Regions from separate parts of the Homo sapiens genome. Here region 2 is linked to region 1. Evidence: promoter capture Hi-C in human tissues and cell types (Jung and others, 2019). All regions are on one chromosome and are shown on one strand. The core of a region is centred on a gene start or on the middle of the fragment in contact, and the rest is flanking DNA. Distances in the headings are between cores, read along the strand shown.

Region 1 (4,758 bases), core at 964-3,463:
TAGAATTCTGTAGATCTCTGTTTTGCTGGGAATATACAGCTTCCCATTATTCTGAGATTGGCTGATCTGTAATGCTGTGAAATATCAGTGTTTACTAAATTTGTTATTTTACATTTATGGGCATACATTTTTTTTTAATTCTCTCTCTCTCTTTTTTTGAGACAGGGTCTCCCTCTGTTACCCAGGCTGGAGTGCAGTGGCGCACTCATGACTCAATGCAAACTTGAATTTGCCTGGACTCAAGTGATCCTCCCACCTCAGCCTCCCAAGTAGCTGAGACTATAGGCATGCACCAACATGCCCAGCTAATTTTTGTAATTTTTGTAGAGATGGAGTTTTACCACGTTGCCCAGGTTGGTCTTGAACTCCTAGGCTCAAGCAATCTCCTAAAGTGTTGGGATTACAGGCATGATCCACTGCTCCCAGCCTTAATTCTTTTAAAAAGGGGAAAAATGAGGTTTTTCACTATTGCTCCAATCACCATCATAGCTAAATAAGTTAATGCACATAGTTAAGAAATGTACAGTAGAGAGAAAACAATCTGTGTTGTATTTAGAAACTAGCAAGAATTAAGGACTAATAATATCTGAATATGAACTGGTATTAAGCCCAAACTACTGCATCAGGAGACCATCAATAAAATTTATTTATCGAGAGCCATTCATTAGTCAACCAAAGTCGTGGGAAATTTAATCTGTATAAGGAGTCATAAGGCATAAGGGATAGGTATGAAGGATTGTTGAGATGATGTGTTTTATTTCGCTAATAATGCATATGACACCATTCCAATTTTTTTAAATTTAAAACAACAATCATTTATTTGCTTGCTTCTCAAGCCTGGGTAATCGTGTTTGGCAATGAGACCTTGTTGCATGCTTGCTAATATCCCACTGGTCAAAGCTAGTCAAATGGCCAAGCCTAGAGTCAGCGTGGGAGAAGGCCACACAAGGGTTTGAATTCTGAGGACGAGTCTCTTTCATTGAAGGCCAAAGAAACAGTCTACCTCAGAGGGTTGCTGGGGAGCTATAATGCAAAGAATAAACCTCACCCTGCCTTCAAGGCGCTCACAGAGAAGAAATCTTTTGAATATTAGTGAAGTTTTCCTGGACATCCCAATGGATAGATGTGAGGGACAGTCACGTACTCAGGACATCTGTTTGCTTATGGTGTTATGTTACAGATGTCACAAATGAAAATCAGAGACATGTAGCCCTGAGCCCAGTAACTATAAAGCGGTCTAGCTGAAGCTGGAGCCCACAAGAGGGCACTTTGCACCATGATGCACGCTTGTTTCTTGCCATCAGCTCTGCAATGAGTTCAAGCTAATGCCATGTCCCAGCCGTCCAGTTGTTTTATGACTTGTGTGATTGAAGCATATGGTGGCTTGTGGCATGTTCTTAGGCAAACCACTCACCTCCCTAGGTTTCGTTTTCCTAATTTCTCAAACAAGGGAGTTAGATTAGGTGGTCTATAGTTCCTTCCAATTGTGATATTTCACTATATAACAATATAGTTATAATAGATCATAGCACATCTGTAATGAAAAAAAGTGAGTTCATTTCTTAACAAGTACATTTACTTAACTAGTTGGAGTCATTAAAGCAAATTAAGAACGAAATTCTTAGTTAATCTGAACTTTTCTGGGCATACTGATCTGTTCCCTAACGCGTCTGACCGTGGAAAAGTGGATCAGCAGGAGTGGGACTGGCTCTCAGCTTTGCCATGTTTGGCTCTTTCTCTGCTGTGAAACTCAGTTTCTTCCTGGATCAAGAGGTTAATTTCTGCCGGTGTTATTTTACAGTGTTGCAAAGAGATAAAAGCCAGACGAAAGAAGGGAAAGTACTTCAGCTTTGATTAGGGATTTTTTTTTCTGTCCCTGTGACCATACACTACTCAATTCTGACAGCTTCGCATGAGTCTAGCAGAAAATTGAGGGATTCACTGTTATTCCTTAACTTGCAGAGGTCCAGACCCGCCCACATCAAATGGTGAGGTCCCCACTTTCAACTTTAGCTGTTGCTAAATCTGTGACCCTTTCAATGAAATCCAAGGATCTCAGCTTAAAAAAAGTTAAAATAAAATAAAAACTAGGTGTTTTTCAGAGGCGGTTTGAAACGCCTCTCTGAGGTTGTCAGAGATTGTTTTTGTTTTCTCCCTTTGCCCTTCTTGGAATGCACCAAACATAAAAGCATTTTTTTTCAAGCTTTACTTTCACTTTCGAGAGTGCCGTCTATTTGCCACACACTTCCCTGATGAAATGTCTGGATTTGGACTAAAGAAAAAAGGAAAGGCTAGCAGTCATCCAAGTAAGTGAAGGTGTTCATTTCACGTTCTTACTGGGCAGGGTCTCTCTTGCTGAGTAGAGTTTGCTAGCAGAATGCATGTGGTTTTAGCCTTCTTTGGTCTTTCTTTGATCTGGTGCTTGAAATCTAGTCAGAATTATTCAGGAAGGAAAGTGGAAGAAAAGGGATATGATATGGGCATGGGAGAAGGGTATAACTCAGAACACAAGTAATAGCACCAATATCTAGTTAATGTGATAATGTATTTATGCAGTATTTAATTTTTTTCTCTGTAGCATTCTGTACCTGGAAAAAACACATTAGGGAAGCTATGGAAATCATTTTGCAACAGTCTTTTTAGCAAATCACATCTTTGCCTTAAAGAAACAAAACTCCAAGAGGTTAAAAGAGCGTATCCCCTTTTGTTAGTTTTATTGGCTGGAGGGGAGACAGGAGCTGGCATTGTATGACAATGTCTTAGATAGGAGAGAACATTCAGGTATGCCTAGGAGTAAGTAAATGGCTTTCTTTCACCTAATGAAGGATAATGGAAGAAGTGGAGAAGTGGAAAGTTGTTAAGGTGTATGGGAAGATCAGAAACTGGTATCGGCAATTGTGGGGTACTCGGGTAAAAATGGAGTTGGCTTCAGCAAGTTGATTCCCAGGTTTACAGATGATTACGTGCTGGTATGTGTCTTCATATGGGCGTGCCTGTGTATGAACCTACTACAAAGGTTGCAAAGTTTACAAATCAAACTATGGATAGTGGTTAACTCCAGGTAGTCTGCCTCCAGACCCCATGTCCTAACCATCAGGCAATATTGTCTCTCACTTGGACAAAGAATGTGAATTCCATGTGCCCTCACAAAATATTTCCAAAATTCTAAGGCTGAGTGAGTCTCTTTTTAATTTTTTTTCATTTTCTTTATTTCTGCTAGATCTCATTCAACAGCAACGTTTTCTTCACTCTCATTTCATCCTTTAACTGCATTTTTGCTTGTTTTACTGAAGCATGTCCTAGAATAACCTTTTCATACAGATCGTATGGCTATAAACTTACTGAATTTTTGCATATCTCAAAATACTTATACCTTTTTATTTAGTTATTCAGATGGATGTGAAATTTCCCTATCTTATTTTATTTTATTTTATTTCATTTTATTTCATTTATCGATTTAGAGACAAGGTCTCGCTGTGTTGCCCAGGCTGAAGTACAGTGGCATGATCGTGGCTCACTGCAGCCTTGACCTCCCTGGCTCAAGCAATTCTCACACCTCAGTGTCACGAGTAGCTGGGACCACAGGTGTGAACCACTATGGCCAGCTAATTTAAAAAAAAATTTTGGTGGAGATGAGGTTTCCCTGTGTTGCCCAGGCTGGTCCCAAACTCCTAGGCTCAAGGGATCCTCCAGCCTCAGCTTCCTAAAGTGATGGGATTACAGGCATGAGCCACAGGTAATTTTCTTGGCCTGGTCAAAGGTAATTTTCTTGTTTTTTAGAGGTAAGGTCTTGCTCTGTTGCCCAGGCTGGAGTGCAGTGGTGTGATCATGATTCATTGCAGCCTTAACCTCCTGGGCTCAAGCGATCCTCCTGCCTCAGCCTCCCAAGTAGCTGGAACTACAGGCTTGTGCCACCACACTTGGCTACTTTCTAAAATATTTTTGTAGATACGGGGTCTCACTATGTTGCCCAGGCTGGTGTTGAGCTCCTGATCTCCTTCTGCCTACACCTTCTAAAGTGCCGGGATTGTGGGGATGAGCCACTATGCTTTGCCTGGATATGAAATTTTAAATTCAAAATAATTTTCTCTAAATGTTTGGAAAGCTTATCTCTATTGTTTTCCAGTGGTTCATGTTACTGATGAAAAGTTTTTTATTAATCAAGATCTCTTTTCTTTGGAAATGAAGGTTTTAGGATTTTTGTGTGCATGGTTGCAATTCTGAAATTTCATAGGAGTCTCTCCAAGTTTGTTCCTCTTTCACTCCTCCTGCCTAGCATTTGGTGAGTTTTGCCCACTGATGAAATGTCTTCAGATGGGGCAAGTCCTTAAGTCATTCAGGGATATGCTTTGTAATGGATTAGTCCTTCTCAGCAATTCTGACCTATAGCAGGAGCCCTACCAGAGGGGTACATCTCACCTAAGCAAGGAGAATGTATTGTAGGGACCTTACCTATGAGTTGGTAAATAGAGATAGGAAGTTCTGAAGGAACTGGAAGAGAGGTTTGGGACACTCTCAGAGAGGGGGCAGGTGGGGAGCTGGTCCCCAGCATTTGAGAGGTATCATTGCCAGCCCTGCATCCTTCACGTGCCTGGGCAAGTCAGCAAATGCATCCTTGCTGGCCTAGCTGTGGCATTCCTCATGGCCTGTGGATATAAAGAATGTGCACAGCTTTACAATGATTAGTGCCAGAGTTGTAAAGGCCATGAGATGGGAATATTAGTTTATGGAAGCCAGTTTTTTTTGTTGTTTTTTCTG
Region 2 (4,758 bases), core at 1,282-3,781, 350 kb before region 1:
AGGCAGAGGGCCCACTAAGCTGTTAACACTTAAGCCGCCCGTGGACAGCAGAGCTAGAACAGCACTGCAACACGCCCTCTGGGGCTTTGGGAGTCACAGGCACCCCCACCTGGATGCTCGAACGGGGACTGCATGGAGTTCGCTCCTGCCAGTGCCAAAGCGGCCAGCGGGTTCCAGCGCTCATGCACGCCAGCTTCCACTCTGCTTGCTGGTGCACTCCCTCCTGTGAGGAGTTGAGAGGGGCAGGCTGAGTAAATGAGGCACCCCCCTCGCAAGTGCCGTGAAGGGGTCAGGGGAATATCCTGCATCGCTACTGTCTCTTTAAAATCTCTCCAGAACCTGCACACCTCTCATCACCACCTTCTGTTTACCACCTAACACCTTAGTCTAGCTTTCCAGTAACCTTATGGTTTTTCTCCCTTCCTCCATTGACATCACCTGCGTTCCACTGTTCCCAAAGTATCCAGAGTGATGCTCAAACATCTGAGAGACATCAGGCATTCTCCTATTCAAAGCCCTCCAGTCACCTCCCATCTCCCCTCCTTTGCTGGCCGGCAGCATCCTCTGTGTCCTGGGCCCTCACTGCACCTCTAGCTCATGGCTACCACTCTTCCTCTTTGTCCTCCAGCCTCTAATGAGGCTGGCTACCTCGTTAAGCCTTGGACACTCCAAGCCCACACTGTCCTCTCCCTGGAGCCCCAGGTCTCTCCTTGAGTTCTTCAGATTTATGCTCCAGCACCTCTGTATCAGAGACCTTTCCTAACTGCCCCATATAAAATGCAGTCCTCCATGTTTCCTTTGTCTTTTAAAAGTTTTTCTGCAGAACACTTCTTATCACCTCTCATCTTACGTGTTTGCTTTTTATCTCTTTCCCACCACAAGGATTAGCTCAGAAGAGCAGAGACTTTCATCAGGAGAACGTGATTCAGAGGCAGGAAATTTAATCATGGGGTGGAACCTATAAGGACGTTCAGTCCACGTACTGGCATCGTGTGGCTCTACACAGGGTAGTTAGGGGAAGGGATGAGTATTACAAGTTGCTGAAAACAATATATACTTTTTTCCTTTAGCAAATGCAAAGAGGTAGTCAGCTTCACCACTTAGGCAAATGCAGAAATATTGCTGCTGTGGAAAAGGGTGCAAGAGAAAGTCAGAGTGAAACAAATCGGTGCTTTATAATTTAGTGAGTAGAATCTGTAATCATTACTATAATTTAATCATTACTATCATTTAGTTTCCCACTGTCATGATATTGCAGCCTGGTACACATTAATATTGCCATATGTTCATACTGCACACCATTATTTGCCTTTGTCGTTTTGTGTGAAACTAGACAAACATCACAATCTGACTTTGGACTCTGACCATTAGCATTGATTTCAAACAGTGCTGAGGCAATTCTGTGAAATATGGAATCACCACCACTACACAGGATCTTAAACTTCAATTCTAGAAATGGGATGGAACAGCTACCCACCTATCCTTAAGTATAATGAAAAAATTACTTTCCTGGTGATAACATAACCTTCATTATTTAAGTGGATATATGGTTGATTTTCTATCTTACATTTAATTTCCTTGGGTTTTGTTAAAATTATGAATGATGAGGCATTGCTTTATCAAAATAATACATTTGCATTTTAACAGATTTTCTTCCATTCTTTCTAAAGGAGTATCTCAAATAATGGGAGGAGTCAGCAGGCTAGAGTGTAGGATATTTTGCAGCAGTGTCTTGCTTTCAGCTTCACGTCATCCCATTGCTCCCTCAGCCAGCCTCTGACCCTACACTTGGTCTATACCAGGTTTATATACTGAGTTTCATGGATACACTTAGGTGGCATTAAGTAGAATAATGGCAGATGTAATGTTTATATAACTTCACTTAAATTTAGTTTAGGCTTTTTTTTTTCACCTCATCAACACAGAAAACCTATAACCTAAAATTTGTGCAGAAATGTGTTTCACAACAGCAATTAGGTATACAGGTGTATTAATCTGTTCTCGCACTGCTAATAAAGACATACCTGAGACTGGGTAATTTATAAAGGAAAGAGGTTTAATGGACTCACAGCTCCACATGGCTGGGGAGGCCTCACCGTCATGGCAGAAGGCAAAGGAGGAGCAAAGTCATGTCTTCCATGGTGGCAGACAAGAGAGCATGTGCAGGGGAACTCTCCTTTATAAAACCGTCAGATCTCGTAGATGTATTCACTACCACGAGAACAGCTTGAGGGAAACCACCCCCATGATCCAATTATCTCCACCTGGCCCCACCCTTGACACATGGGGATTATTACAATTCAAGGTGAGATTTGGGTGGGGCCACAGAGCCAAACCATATCAACAGGCATGCTACCTAAACCTCTCAAATCATTTAAAAGTTTCACTTATCTTCAGAACACATGAGTCTATAAAGAAATAAGCAACTGTGTTTTGGGTTATAAGTTAAAGGCTTGTAAATCATTAAAAAGAAGACCACTTTACCATGGCATTTTTCACGACAGATTTTTTAAAAATATCAACATTTTCTCATTAATCTCCATGAATTTGTTTGCAAAGAATAAATTTACTTAATCATTAGCTTTATTCTGCTTTTGGATAGCATGACTAAATAAGTTGCCTAAACTGAAAGAGTGATGTTAAGACTAAAAGTAGAAGTTATCAGTATTTATGCTGATGTAACAGGCATAAAATGGGATTATGCCAGGCAATAAGGCGAAAAAGAGATGATGTAACAAAATTCCTTCTATTTTGATATTAATTTAGTCTCCAGCAATTTATAGCTTTTCTCTCCAAGAAACACCACTCCTGTACCCCAAGGAGATAGTAAAGTTGAGAAAAGCCCTATGAAAAGGCCAAAGGAACAGACACGAAATAAAAAATAAAATAAATATTTAGTTTAAAAAATAAAAAGAAATAATTTAACCTAGAATAATTAAGACTAAAGAAACATGAGACTGAAAATTTAAAATCAGAAAAAAACTGGTAAAGTTAACTCTATTTTTCCCTAAGCCCTAACTTACCAGGATTAAAAGACACTCCATTATATTTCAAAATTGTTTTTGATAGAAATAGATTAAAAAGTACTTTATGTAGCGAGTAGAACATTTCTGGAACTCAACAACTTGAAATACAACAGACCAAAAATGTAGACAGAATCTAAATCCTTTAGAAATATGCAGGAGTGACAGCTCCATCCATGTTTTCCTCCCTCGACTACAAGTGGCTTAAAGACAGAGGTCATAAAAAAAGAGTGAAAACTACTAAATGCTCAATAGATAAATAATAAATCTTAAGTGCTTAATAAATGTTGCTGGAATGTGTAACAGAATATTCTGAAAGGAAGGCTATTCTTAACAGTCATGCCCACTGTGCCATGTCCTACAATGTGACTGCTGGAGAGAGATTAGAAGTAACATCTTTTTCTATGGCAAGCCACACAGTCAGAGACCTAAGAGAAAGTAGTCCTCTTCCTCTTCTAATAAATAGAAATAGACAGTTCCTATATCATCAGAGGATTTCATAGAAAAAGTATTTCATAACGAAGGCTTATGATCCTGATTATGGGCTACTTTTAAGAACTGTGGCATCACCTGCTGCTCAACTCCCAGACAGAGATGGGCGTGGTCTCCCGTAACACCTGCTGCTGGGGCAGGCTGGCGAGGTAGTCAAGAGTGTAGATGCTGGAGCCAAGCCAGCTTTGTGAAAAGCCCATTCTACCATATCCAGATGGATCACTTCAGAAAGTGACTTATCCTCTCTCTGAACCTGCCCACATTTCCTCCTCTAGAAACAGGGATAACAACGGTGCCAACCTCCTGGGGTGGCTGAAGGACCCAGTGGATGCGTATACACGAAGCACTTAGAAGTGAGTCTGGCAGGTACTGCCAAAAATGTGACTCCTGCTGCTATTAAACAGGGGATGTTGCCTTGGCACCGACAGGTGTGACTAGCGGTTGAAATATTTCAGATACGGGGCCCCTTCTTGCCTTGGTCCCTCATTCAAATGAATTCACGAATCAGGTTTTCTCTTGTATAAATGAGTTTTTTTTAAGGGCGTCTACTAAATCTTGGTTTGAAGGATGAATTCTTCTGGGCTCACATTTGCTTCTTTACTCCACAGATGGTGGAGTAAAATCTGTGTTCATTGCACCTTCCGCTGGTGCTTTAGGCTCCAGGAGCAGCAGCTCCCTGGATTGAGTGGGAGCCAGTTCTGCCTGACTGGTCTCACCAGCACACCAGACTGCGCAGGCGGGTCAGAGGCCCACGGGGAGGAAACATCAGTGGAGGGAGGATGCTGTGAGCGGTCCACCCCTGCATGACAGATGTCCCTTTACAGAAAAGAAGTGGGAAACAGACTTTGGCAAAGGGAAACGGCAGAGTAGCAAGATGATTTTGATTACTAGTGACATTTAATTGCAATTAGATTTTTAACCACAACCAAGAAGATGATAAAGCTTTTCCATGTATTTTCCATAAAACTGTCCGAGCTTAGGACACTTTAGTGCTCATTCTTCCTGCAACACTACCCACCACAGGTTCACTGTATTGGAAGTATACTGAGAAGAGCTCGTGGCTGGCGTGGGAGCGCCGCTGTCTTCAAACCTGGAAGTGAAGTGCACCCACACCCAGCCACAGCAGTGATTCCCCGGGAGCGACCTTCAGGGAGTTGCTAGGAGATGGCCGCTCTGTGTTTCCTTTGATTATAGGGCATAACCCTGCCACTGTCAAAATGCCAGAAGAAAAGGGCAGTGATTG

Evidence for each region. Contacts are between HindIII fragments. The study calls those that stand out against the background at their distance.
Region 2: a fragment that was not itself captured here is called in contact with the fragment with the promoter of TLR3 in region 1 in 1 of the 25 tissues and cell types used here (mesenchymal stem cells).

What each region holds. Positions count from the first base shown.
Region 1 is chr4:186,066,943-186,071,700 of GRCh38, forward strand. It overlaps TLR3 (toll like receptor 3), which reads left to right and starts at 2,214. Exons shown (of 5, transcript NM_003265.3): 1 at 2,214-2,306. The HindIII fragment of the contact is 6,210 bases long and covers 1-4,758 here.
Region 2 is chr4:185,712,555-185,717,312 of GRCh38, forward strand. All of the region lies in intron 3 of SORBS2 (sorbin and SH3 domain containing 2), which reads right to left. Among named protein-coding and RNA genes, the nearest start is that of SORBS2, 97 kb to the right of the region's middle. RefSeq lists an enhancer at 1-98. The HindIII fragment of the contact is 5,882 bases long and covers 1-4,758 here.